3 separate regions of the Homo sapiens genome follow, and all the other regions are linked to region 1. The links are contacts of gene promoters, found by promoter capture Hi-C in human tissues and cell types (Jung and others, 2019). All regions are on one chromosome and are shown on one strand. Each heading gives the region's core, a stretch centred on a gene start or on the middle of the fragment in contact. The rest is flanking DNA. Distances are from core to core; before and after follow the strand shown. Region 1 holds the start of GPR61 (G protein-coupled receptor 61). Region 2 has its middle 7.6 kb from the start of GSTM5. Region 3 holds the start of GSTM1 (glutathione S-transferase mu 1).

The links. Contacts are between HindIII fragments. The study calls those that stand out against the background at their distance.
Region 2: a contact is called between a fragment that was not itself captured here and the fragment with the promoter of GPR61 in region 1, in 1 of the 25 tissues and cell types used here (spleen).
Region 3: the fragment with the promoter of GSTM1 here is called in contact with the fragment with the promoter of GPR61 in region 1 in 1 of the 25 tissues and cell types used here (mesenchymal stem cells).

What each region holds. Positions count from the first base shown.
Region 1 is chr1:109,537,627-109,541,760 of GRCh38, forward strand. GPR61 (G protein-coupled receptor 61) reads left to right here and starts at 2,246. Exons shown (of 2, transcript NM_001393907.1): 1 at 2,246-2,327. RefSeq lists enhancers at 1,759-2,260, 2,261-2,760. The HindIII fragment of the contact is 6,013 bases long and covers 1-4,134 here.
Region 2 is chr1:109,702,544-109,706,677 of GRCh38, forward strand. No RefSeq gene overlaps it. Among named protein-coding and RNA genes, the nearest start is that of GSTM5, 7.6 kb to the right of the region's middle. The HindIII fragment of the contact is 8,634 bases long and covers 1-4,134 here.
Region 3 is chr1:109,685,403-109,689,536 of GRCh38, forward strand. It overlaps GSTM1 (glutathione S-transferase mu 1), which reads left to right and starts at 2,415. Exons shown (of 8, transcript NM_000561.4): 1 at 2,415-2,507; 2 at 2,768-2,843; 3 at 3,271-3,335; 4 at 3,646-3,727; 5 at 3,823-3,923. The coding sequence starts at 2,472. RefSeq lists an enhancer at 2,465-2,514. The HindIII fragment of the contact is 14,943 bases long and covers 1-4,134 here.

The DNA.
Region 1 (4,134 bases), core at 996-3,495:
TCCAACAGCTGGAACATGCTGCCTCTTTGGTACTGCCTTTCCCAATAGCTCTCTGGGAGGGGCTTCAGGACACGGACGCCTTGCCTGCTGGCCACCACATGAGCTGTGATTACCTGTGCTAGCTCCCTGAAGCTGGAGAGGCAGGCTATGTTTGTTTTGCAGGCTCCCTACCACTATTAGATAAGCTTGGAAGTGAAGAATTTTGCCCATTTTCACAGACAGCCAACTCACAGGCCAAGGTCTTACCACCAACCAATAGAATGGCGCCAAACTGGAACCAAGGTTTTCTGACTCCAGTCTAGCGCTCTTTCTAAAATCCTGTTCCAGTGGGCCCAGGTCTGCTCCAGTTCTTATTGAATCCCTCGGAAGGGGCCATGCCAGTCTGGGCTGGGGCCCTGCAGGAAGAATGTGGGTGCTGAGCAGGGACAGGCTTTACCTAATCCCAGACAATCTGCTTGATGCCAAATTAATCTTGCCAACACAACAGCACAGGGCTTCCTAAAAATCACTTTGCTGTCTACAGGTTTTCAATTTGGTATTTCCATTTGAATTTCTTGTACGCAGGTATGCCTAATTTTGAGGTCTGTTTTAGGCTTTCTGGAAGGCAGTGACTACTTCTATGAAGATAGCTTTTAGGGCTGTAGTCCACAGTCTTGTGTCAGGCCACTGGAGAGGCCACGGAACGAAGGGAGAAGGAGGAGGAAATACTTGGACTTCAAACAGATCTGGGTTCAAATATCAGCTCTTGCACTTATTAGCTGTGTGATTTGGGGAAAGTCACTTCTCCTCCAGCACCCGGTTCCTCACTTATAAAATAGGGCAAGTCATGGCTGCCTCATAGATTGGTGTGGGGATCAAAGAAACTGTATGTAAAGGGCCTGGCACTCATAACAGCTCAAAAAGTGGTGGCTGGTGACAGCGGCACTTGCTGCATCGGCTCTTGGTTTGTCAGTGGCCTCTTTGTTTTTGACCTGGGGCTTGGGGCAGCCAACTTGTCCCAGTGAGGTCCTTGGGTAACTCATTGTTCTTATGGCTCTTTGGGTTGGGTCTGGTAAACAATTCCAGAATTCCCTTTTTCCTTCTTAGAGGCAGAAGGAGTCCCTAGATAGGCAAGTCTCAGGGAAGCAGGCTCTGGAGTAGGGGATCATGCCTGAATTCCCTGTTTAGACTCATGGCTCTGCCATGTGGAGCTATGTGGCTTTGAGCAATCTCTTTATCTCTCTGGGTCTCAGAAACATGGATACCTTGGCCTGTAGGATGTCCTACAGCTTTGCAATGTTAGGATTCTATCCTTGGGTATCAGTCATGTACCCGGGTAAATGATCATTTTCTTCATAGCTAGAGGGAGGCCATGCCCCTTCATTGCGTCTCTGAAGGCCCATCATGCCACAGATGGGCGATGCTCAGTGGCTGATGCTACCTAGCTCTGTCCAGTCCCACAAATCCAGATCAGTGTGAGCATTCCTGAGTCCCTGGCCCCCACTCTGTCTCCTTCAGGAAGCAGTGTTGTGGTGGTTCCCATGGTGGCTCGGGGGGATGTTAGATCCTCCCGCCCCCTCCCTGCCAATCTCCATCAGCCCTCACAGCCCCAGTTCCAATAAACATACAATCTAAGCAAATAATAATAATGTGCTTTTGGGAGGCAAGGGCAGGGTTAAGACAAAGCCTTCAGCTGCCCTTCAAACCTGAGTGCTGCTCCTAAACCTGTCCCCCATACGCATTAGGCAGCTTCCAAAGGGGCCAAACCTTGGACCATCCCCTGGAGCCTCAGCCGCCTCCCTGGCCTAAGCCTTGGGGCCCTGGGTCTGCGCTGACCTGCCTGCATCAGCACCTTGGTTCTGATGTCACACAGAACCATGCATCTCTCCTATCTTCTCTTTGAACTGCTAAGAAATCAAGGCCAAAATGCAACTTGCCCAAGGTCACACGGCTAGTAAGTGCCATAGCCAGGCCTTAAACCTGGATTTTCTGACTCCATGTACTTTTTTTTTTACTTCATCAGGCTGGTCAAGAGGGTCTCCCCTACCTATCATTTCCTGGCCCCACGAAATTTTTGAGACGCAATCCAGCAGCCTGAGAGAAGTGAGAGGAGTTGAGCTCACTGCCAGGCACCTTGCCTGGGGCATTGGTGCCCACCTTTTTGCTCCAGAAGTGACTCTGAGGGGCTGGGTGGGAAGCAGGAGGCCATTAGGACCCAGAGGCTCTCGGAGCACTCTGCTTTGCCGGCTGCCTCTCACCGCTCACTGCAGTGCTTCAGGCTTCAGCAGCCTTGGAGAAGCATCAGCTGAGAGGAGCTATCACATGGGAGCCGGGACTGCTCAGCAAAGGTAGGAGTTGCCGACTAGGCCAGGAATGGGGGCCAGACCCAGAGCCTGGTGGTGAGTGCCAAGGTATCCCCACAGAAGGGTGGCTTTCCAAGGACCAGCCCTGCCTACATTCCGGTGAGCAGTTTGATCAGGAGATGGGCTCTCAGGTATCCCAAAGGCGGTATTGGGGTGTGGGCATCTCTGAAGCCCAGAGCTGGGGGGTTGATCATCTCCTGCCGGCAGGAGTACCCACATCCTGCAGACAAACAGCATTCTCCATCTGTCTTGCTCCATGTCATGGACATGGGTCTCCCACATTCTAGGAATGGGCCCTTCAGCATACAGGCTGATGGGCAACTGTGTCCTGGGCGTGGGCAACTCTGCTGAGGAGAGGTGTTGTAGCTCCCTGGAAATCTTCCCTAGCTTAGGAGGGGCACGCTCTTGTCTGAAGGAAGGCCAGGCTCAGGTCTTTGGGATGGAAGCTCTGGATCTGGAAAACAGGTGCATGTGAATCCCAATACCTCTGTGGCCTTGGGCTGGGCACTTATGCACATCTTGCATCCTGTAACTTGACCATGCCCCTGCTAGAGGCCCAGACCTCAGGCCCTAGTGGCAAAGCCTTCTAGGTACTGAAGGTCCTGGAGGTAAGAGGGGTGCTGTTGGAAGTAAGTAGTGGGGGAAGGAAAGCATCTGTTGGGGGAGTAGGCATAATGATATGACCTGGGAGAGGAGTGAGGCTCCCTGGGTTTCACCTATGAAACTGTTACACCACAGCCCTCCCCTCCATAACCCCAGTCCATTAGTGAGGGAGTGCCCATTAGCCAGATACACTGATCTGTCTGTTAAGAGGTAAATTGGAATCCTGGCATTTAGGAGTCACTGTGGAGACACTGGCAAGCTTGAGGGAGCTATGAAAAAGAGCAATGTCCAATGCCTTCTTGCTCAGGGCTCCATCATGGCTTCGTGGCATCCCTCCAGCTCCACGTGGAAACCAGGTCTGCTTCCCTCCGTCTGGGACTCTTGATGTCCATCCAGACATGGTGGGCCTCTCCTCCTTCAGCCACCAGGGAGGGACTCTGAACCACATCCTCTGGGCCTCACTCACAGACAGAAGGGATAGGTAAATCAGAGCATGGAGAGTAAGAAGGAAGGATGCTTCTCCTAGCATTTCTTTCAGGCATTTTTCCTGGTAGACTCTAATGAGAAGCTGATGTCTCACTTTTGTGCCCGCTCTTCAACTTCTCTGCAGACTCTAAGTCTCTGTGGGCATCTTAACTGTGAAATGAGCTTTCTGTGTCCCTAGAGAGAGGCACGTCTCTAGGCAGTTGCCCAAAGTTAGGGCTTCCTCAAGTCCAGGAACCCCGGCTACCCTTTCCACAAGAGAGTCCCTTGGCTGGCACACAGCTGGCTGACTGAGTGTTCTTGGAGTTTGTCCTAGGGGGCAGGGATTCAACTACCAATTTGAGTTTGATTCAATTCACAAAATTGTATTCAGCACCTATTGCATGCATAGCATGTTAGAAGTTGGATTGGTGTAAGGTTTATGGAAACACCAAAAACCAAAGGTGACTGTAAGGCTATAACTGTGGAGGAGAGTGGGGCCCATCTTGCCATGTGATCCTCTTTATTGCAGCCATAGAAATGATGGGTTTTTAAACTGAGCAACCTCAGTGTCTCCTCCCTACTTCTTGTTCTGTGACTGTAGTAAGTCTAGAACCAATGCGGCTCTTGGTCAGGGATCCTCCAAGGGTCAGCTCCAGAGATCAGAGATTTGGGGATCTGGGGAGCAGGAGGTTGGCAGCAGCTCCTTTCCCACAAGAGGGGCACA
Region 2 (4,134 bases), core at 812-3,311, 160 kb after region 1:
TTTGTTCAGTGTACTCTCGTGGTAAAACTGCTGGCGAGTGTACCCTTTCTGCAGAAAGTAAAAATGGCCTTTGTTGCAGGAAGTCAGGGACCCCGAATGGAGGGACCGGCTGGAGCTGCAGCAGAGGAACATAAATTGCAAATATTTCATTTTAATATGGACATTTATCGGTTCCCAAATTAATACTTTTATAATTTCTTATGCCTGCCTTACTTTAATCTCTTAATCCTGTTATCTTCTTAAGCTGAGGATATAGGTCACCTCAGGACCACTGTGATAATTGTGTTAACTGTACAAATTGATTGTAAAACATGTGTGTTTGAACAATATGAAATCAGTGCACCTTGAAAAAGAACAGAATAACAGCGATATTTAGGGAACAAGAGAAGACAACCATAAGGTCTGACTGTCCGCAGGGTCAGGCAAAATAGAGCCATATTTTTCTTCTTGCAGAGAGCCTATAAATGGACATGCAAGTAGGGAAGATATTGCTAAATTCTTTTCCTAGCAAGGAATATTAATATTAATACTCTGGGAAAGGAAAGCATTCCTGGGGGGAGGTCTATAAATGGTCGCTTTGGGAATGAATGTCTGTCCTATGCAGTTGAGATAAGGACTGAAATACACCCTGGTCTCCTGCAGTACCCTCAGGCTTACTAGGGTGGGGAAAAACCTGGCCCTGGCAAATTTGTGGTCAGACTGGTTCTCTGCTCTTGAACCCTGTGTTCTGTTGTTTAAGATGTTTATCAAGACAATACATGCACCGCTGAACATAGACCCTTATCAGGAGTTCTATTTTGCCCTTGTCCTGTTTCCTCAGAAGCATGTGATCTTTGTTCTGCTTTTTGCCCTTTAAAGCATGTGATCTTCGTACCTACCCCCTGTTCGTACACCCCCTCCCCTTTTGCAATCCTTAATAAAAACTTGCTGGTTTTGAGGCTCGGGCGGGCATTACGGTCCCACTGATATGTGATGTCACCTCCAGCAGCCCAGCTGTAAAATTCCTCTCTTTGTACTCTTTCTCTTTATTTCTCAGCCAGCCGACACTTATGGAAAGTAGAAAGAACCTACATTGAAATACTGGGGGCAGGTTCCCCCAATATCTGGTGCACCAACATGGTTTTCTTTTTCCTAAGTGCATGTGGGAACCTGATTCCCTTTGGTAGGTGTGGAGAAACGATCATCAGTCCAGTCCTCAGAAACGCTTGTTCGGCTCCCTGATGATTGGTGAATTTTCTATGTATTGTCTCGGGTAACTATGGGTCACATGGAGTCTAAATATTATGCTTATCTCTGCTATATTAAACTCCTGTTAAAACAGGGTGGAGTTTGGGTGCCCATGGAAAATATGGTCACCCTATTCAGGGTGTTGGAAGAACACTGTCCTTGGTTTCCTGAAAAGGGAAAATTAGATGTGGAACTATGGGATCGCGTTGGTGCAAAATTCCAGGAACTGATCCCATCAGGAAATTATGTTCCCTTCACTGTTTGGGGTGATTGGGCCTTGGTATGTGCCATCCTAACGACATACCAATCCCGTGACCCCCTGCAGTTACCACAGTTTTCTGAATCTGGCGACCTTCTACCTCTTCCACAGCTTTCCTCTCCCACTCGGGCTTCATTATCTGCTCAGCCTCTCCCTTCGCCTACTCCTCCCCCACCTAACGATATTGAGGATTCAATATCTAACTCCGGTGACTTTGGCTTAATGTCACCCCCGATGGTCTTATTTCTTTTCATGAAGACCTGATACTTGTAGCTCCCATGGCCCTGACTCGGACAGCTCTGCACCATATCTATGCTAACTCTTCCCTTTTCAAATCTTTGCAGGCTTTGCCTCCAGAGCCATCTAATGGCTCCAGACCAAACTACAATTTACCTGTAATTCTGCAGGCCCTCCCCCACCGCAGCCCCTCACCCTCCTGTCATTTCGGTCCCTCAACCAGTCACTTTGCCATTCACTCAACCTGCTTCTCTGTACCCTTCTTCACACATGGACGCCCCTGCCACTCTGGTTGCACAGGATTTCCCAATAATCACCAGTATGCTTCTGTCTCTTCTGCTCCCCCAATGCCCCTTTCTCACACTCTCATACTGGTCTGACCTCCTGAACCTCAGTTTCCCTTATCTACACATACTTTTACTGTCACTTCTATGCCAACTCCATCTCATGTGCCTGCTCTTGAAACTTCCATGCAATGCTTATTACGCCAGAACAAAGAAACAAGTGGATTAGAGGTGTGGGCTTATCCGGTCACGCTGGAACCTCCCAATGCTCAAGGGGTACAAATGCGTTGATATGCACTGCTCAATCTTACCTTTTCAAAAGAATTCAAGGATGCTTGTGCTCAGTATGGTCCTGCTTCTCCATATGTTAAAATGGCATTACAGACTCTTTGTACTGAGGTCATTTTGCTTCCTTCAGAATGGGACCTTTTGGCGAAAGCTGTTCTAACTCCATCTCAGCATTTACAATTCTGTACCTGGTGGTCAGAGGAGGCCCGTCTGCAGGCTCAGCTAAATTGGGTTGATGGCATTCTAATTACTCAGGCTCAGCTCACAGGCTCTGATAATCACTCTGACACTACCGCCCAATTAGACTTTGACGCTCTCACCACGGAACAAGTAACAAAGTTGTGTATGAGAGTTTGGGATAAACTAGGTGCCCCAGGCCAAGCTCCTGTTTCTTTTACTACTGTTAAACAGGGTCGCAGTGAATTACATCCTGATTTTTTGGCTAAATTACAAGATGCTGTTCAAAATCTGTCTCTGATGATTACGCTCAAGGTATTCTCCTTCATATGTTAGCTTTTGAGAATGCGAACCATGAGTGTAAAGTGGTCATGCGTTCTGTCTAATGACAAAATTTACCTGATCACGAGGTGTGCCTGCATATATTAAAGCTTGTGAAAGCATTGGATCAGAGACCCACAAAGCTATTCTGTGGGCACGGGCCATGAAGGATGGCAATCAAACTGGCTTGACTGAATTCTTTTCTTGGAGCCTGCTATAATTGTGGTCAACTTCATCATACCCAAAAAAATTGCACTGTTAAAAGCGGCCAAGCCAGCTCAACAAACATGGCCAAATGCTCCTGCTACTGTTTGCCCTCATTGTCGTAAAGGTAAACACTGGGCAAGTACTTGCCACTCTAAGTCTGATATAGATGGCAATCCCTTGCCACAGAACCAGGGAAATGGGAAGCAGGGCCAGTCCCAGGCCCCAGTATCAAATGGGACACCTCAGACTCAGACCAATATTGTGTTTCTGCTTCAAGCGGTCCCAATACAGCCCCCAGCACAAGCAAATTTACCTACAGCCAACCCAGATGGGTCCCAGTCGCTTCTTCTGTCTCAGTACAATGCTTGTCTACCTCCACAGTAGGGGGCAGGGCGGTCAATCTCTGTAGTACCACTCCTCTAAATTTACTACCGAATTCTTTGCCTTTAATTGTCCCCACGGGGGCCACTGGCCCTTTACCTCAAGGTTTGGTGGGCCTGGTGTTAGGTAGGGCATCCACCTCTGCTAAAGGTATCATAGTTCATACTGGTCTCATTAATTCTGATTCCTCTGATGAGATTAAAATAATCGTGTCTGCCAAGGTTCCTGTTTCCATTCCGGCCAGTGAGTCAATTGCTCAACTACTTTTACTACCTAATATTGTTTTAAACAAAGGAGATAAGACAGGGGGCCCTGGGATGGGCTCTGGCGGTGAAAAAGCCGCTTATTGGATTAAAGTAATTTCTAAACAACAGCCCACCTGCACCATACATATTAAAGGAAAAAAGTTTGAGGGCCTAGTAGATACTGGGGCTGATGTTTCTATTATTTCCTCTAATTTATGGCCTTCTTCCTGGCTTAAACATCCCACTAACATGGGACTAGTAAGGGTTGGAAAAGCTGATGAAGTTCACCAAAGCACATTTATCTTGCCTTGCACTGGGCCTGATGGTCAAAAGGGAACAATTCAGCCTTATATCATGCCAATCCCCATTAATCTTTGGGGTAGATATTTGCTGGAACAATGGGGGGCTGAAATTAATATTCCACATAACTCTTCTCGTGCTCCCAGTCAACATATAATGGAAAACGTGGGGACTGTTCCTGGACTCAGTCTCGGTCCAAAACATGAAG
Region 3 (4,134 bases), core at 1,165-3,664, 150 kb after region 1:
ATCATAAACTCTTAATGCATAATGAGAAATATAATGTTTCCTAGGGCCAGGCACTTGTGTCTGTGCTGGTGCTATTGCCTCAATGCAGGAAAATCTATGTAAGAGTTCACTGTGAGGCCAAAACTGCTTCCTAAACATGGATACCTGCCAGGTATCTGAGCTGGGAGTACTGCCCAGGTCTGGATGGGCGGGGAGTGTTTGCAACAAGGACTGTGCCTTGCCAGCCTCAGTGACACAGTGTCCAAGTGCCCCAACTTAGCAGCCACCTGCTGACCACCTGATTTCTGTGGCCTAATAGGGATGTGATGAAGTCTACCTGTTTACTCAACCCCAAACCACACATTATCCAGGTGGTTTGAAACTTTTTTGATATACTGGGTTCATCCTCTGGAGTCCTAACAATGTTTTAGCTAATTTACAAAAAACAAAACAAAACAAAACAAAACAAAACAAAACAAAAAAACTACTTTTTTTGCAGCACAACAGCCTGGTTTACATTGCAAAATGATTTCTCATTAAAGGTCTATCATCTATTTCCATATGTCCATTATTATTTGCAATATCCTTTAAAGCAGTCAACCCCAGGCTAATCCATTGCACAACTCTTTTGAAAGTCTTCCTTCTACCTTGAAAGAAGAAAGTTGGCAGGTTGGACATTGTTCTCGTGGAGGTTGTACCATGGGTCACATATCACGGTGTGACTTCAAAGGCCACTGGAGCCACCGTCTCATACTGAAGAACACACATGGGTCAGGAGCCAGGTCCAGGTCCGGAATGGTGGATCTGGAGAGGGGAGGGTCCCTGCCTGTGGTCCTGTGGGGAGCCCTCAGGCTCCTCTCTGGCCACCATCCTCTGACCTCCCTCCTCAGCAGGACAGGGTTCTGGCTTCTCTGAGGGACAGGTTCTGTGGCAGGCCAGGCGTCACTAACACAGGCCTCCATAACAACTGTTTCAGTACTGACTGAGTGGTGAAGTTAAATATTAAAAGCTGAAAAAAGCCAGTACCTTTATACAGAGGCTGGATGTAACAAAAGCCCACCAAGAGTTTTGCTTAGGCCTTTCCTGGGCCTTAAAGCATGACAAAACAATGAAGGAATTCTTAACAGGACCTATTTAGAATTAAACAAGTTTTATTGTGAGTCTGAAGAAACTCCCCAGGCCTCCACAAACAAGTTTATTGGGCGTCTGAAGGAACTCCCCAAACCTCCGTGATTTAGCAGGAGACAAGATAAGGGTAATCATCCCCCGCACCTGGACCCATTTAGATTAAATAAATAGACTGAGGCTCCAGAATAAGGTCCTCAGGACCCAGACCTCAGTTACAGATTAAAGAAGTTAATCACTTATGTCTTTAGATGAATGCACACTTACTTGTAGACATATACCTTAGAAGGTATATATGCTCTGGAAAACTTTGTAATATTGAGTTGGTCTGGTGGTAATTTCTAGGCCTTCTCCCTGTTACCGGTTGCAGAAATAAAACCTCTCTTCCTCCCCATTTGATCTGCATCTCGTTATTGGGCCTAGAGAAATAGCAGCCGGACCCTCAGTTTGGTCCGGGAAGTTCTTCCATCCTCCCTCGCCTGCTCTCTGTGGCCACTGCACTCACTGTTGCTGTTGCTGTTCCGGTCTCTGTGAGGTTCACCTAGTGGACTGGCTGGACATTTCTAGGGGGCACCTCAGATACCTCACCAACTTGCTGGATCTGATCCTTGGATTTCGATTCATAAATTGTGCCAAAATACGAAGTGGCTAATTTACACAGTACTTAGCCAGATGACCGAAGGACTCAGTACCCGAGGGCCCCTAACAGAAAACACAGACCACATTTCCTTTACTCTGGCCCTTTTCCTGGGGGTCCTTCCTATACCACTGACACTGTTCCTGTGTAGGCGGGGCTAGAGGGGAGACTAAGCCCTGGGAGTAGCTTTCGGATCAGAGGAAGTCCTGCTCTTACAGTGACAGGGGCTGAATTAAATTCCCAGGTTGGGGCCACCACTTTTTAGTCTGACCCCTGCAGCCGGAGTCTCCCAGAGCCCTTGGGAACTCGGCAGCGGAGAGAAGGCTGAGGGACACCGCGGGCAGGGAGGAGAAGGGAGAAGAGCTTTGCTCCGTTAGGATCTGGCTGGTGTCTCAAGCGCACAGCCAAGTCGCTGTGGACCTAGCAAGGGCTGGATGGACTCGTGGAGCCTCAGGGCTGGGTAGGGAAGCTGGCGAGGCCGAGCCCCGCCTTGGGCTTCTGGGCGCCCTGACTTCGCTCCCGGAACCCTCGGGCCTGGGAGGCGGGAGGAAGTCTTACTGAGTGCAGCCCCAGGCGCCCTCTCCCGGGCCTCCAGAATGGCGCCTTTCGGGTTGTGGCGGGCCGAGGGGCGGGGTCGCAGCAAGGCCCCGCCTGTCCCCTCTCCGGAGCTCTTATACTCTGAGCCCTGCTCGGTTTAGGCCTGTCTGCGGAATCCGCACCAACCAGCACCATGCCCATGATACTGGGGTACTGGGACATCCGCGGGGTGAGCGAGGGTCCGCTGGACGGTGGGACGAGGGCGCAGGGGAGGGAAGTGCGAAGCAGCTGCGGGACGGACTCTAGGGACCGTTCCTCTTCAGGGCTGCCCGCCTCAGAAGGGCCTGTGCATGCCGCTGTGTGTGTGTTGGGGGTGTGGGCGGGTAGAGGAGGCAACGGGTACGTGCAGTGTAAACTGGGGGCTTCCCTGGTGCAGACAAAGTCAGGGACCCTCCATCTCTGACGCGACCTGCGGGCCATCTCTCCCAGCTGGCCCACGCCATCCGCCTGCTCCTGGAATACACAGACTCAAGCTATGAGGAAAAGAAGTACACGATGGGGGACGGTAATGGCACCCTCGTGTTCGGGCTCTGCCCACTCACGCTAAGTTGGCACCAAGCAACCCATGGTGGCCACCTGTGGCTGCCTCTGCAGGCCTCCCCTGCTGGAGCTGCAGGCTGTCTCTTCCCTGAGCCCCGGTGAGGGAGCCCTCTGGCCTTGCAAGGCAGAATGCTGGGGTGGGATGCTGGGCCCCCTGTCTAATTGGGACGGGTGTCCCTCAGGGCTTGCCTAAACCCTGGAAGCCTTAGCTGTGTGGGGTCCAGAGCCCTCAGCGGGATTCTTTGTCCCTGAACCCTGGGATGTGGGACTGAGTGGTCAGATTCTAGATCCACCTGTCTCAGGGATCTTGCCACTGGCTCCGTGGGAGGGTCCCCGGGAAGGAGGGCTGGGCTCTGGGGAGGTTTGTTTTCACTTCTTCTTCCCCACCACAGCTCCTGATTATGACAGAAGCCAGTGGCTGAATGAAAAATTCAAGCTGGGCCTGGACTTTCCCAATGTAGGTGCAGGGGAAGGGGCGGTTTTGGGGGAAAGTGCAACGTGTCTCTGACTGCATCTCCTCTCCCCAGCTTAGAGGTGTTAAGATCAGGAGTCTTCTGCCCAATTCCTCTCACTCCTGGCTGTCTAAACAGTCCTTCCATGATGTTCTGTGTCCACCTGCATTCGTTCATGTGACAGTATTCTTATTTCAGTCCTGCCATGAGCAGGCACAGTGAGTGCCCGGTCTCCTCTCTGCTCTTGCTTATGGGAAGGGGATGCTGGGGAGCCTGGTGGCCCAACTGAGCTTCGCCGGTTTCCCATCCATCCAGCTGCCCTACTTGATTGATGGGGCTCACAAGATCACCCAGAGCAACGCCATCTTGTGCTACATTGCCCGCAAGCACAACCTGTGTGAGTGTGGGTGGCTGCAATGTGTGGGGGGAAGGTGGCCTCCTCCTTGGCTGGGCTGTGATGCTGAGATTGAGTCTGTGTTTTGTGGGTGGCAGGTGGGGAGACAGAAGAGGAGAAGATTCGTGTGGACATTTTGGAGAACCAGACCATGGACAACCATATGCAGCTGGGCATGATCTGCTACAATCCAGAATTTGTGAGTGTCCCCAGTGAGCTGCATCTGACAGAGTTTGGATTTGGGGCCAGGACTCTTGCATTCCTGCACACACTGGTCTTAAGTCCCTGGTACCATTCATCCTCCAAGTGCTTTCCCATACTATCAGCAGTTATTCTCACGACTCCAATGTCATGTCAACAAAAGCAGAGGCAATTCCCACCAACCTTAGGACACGATCCAGGCATCCCAG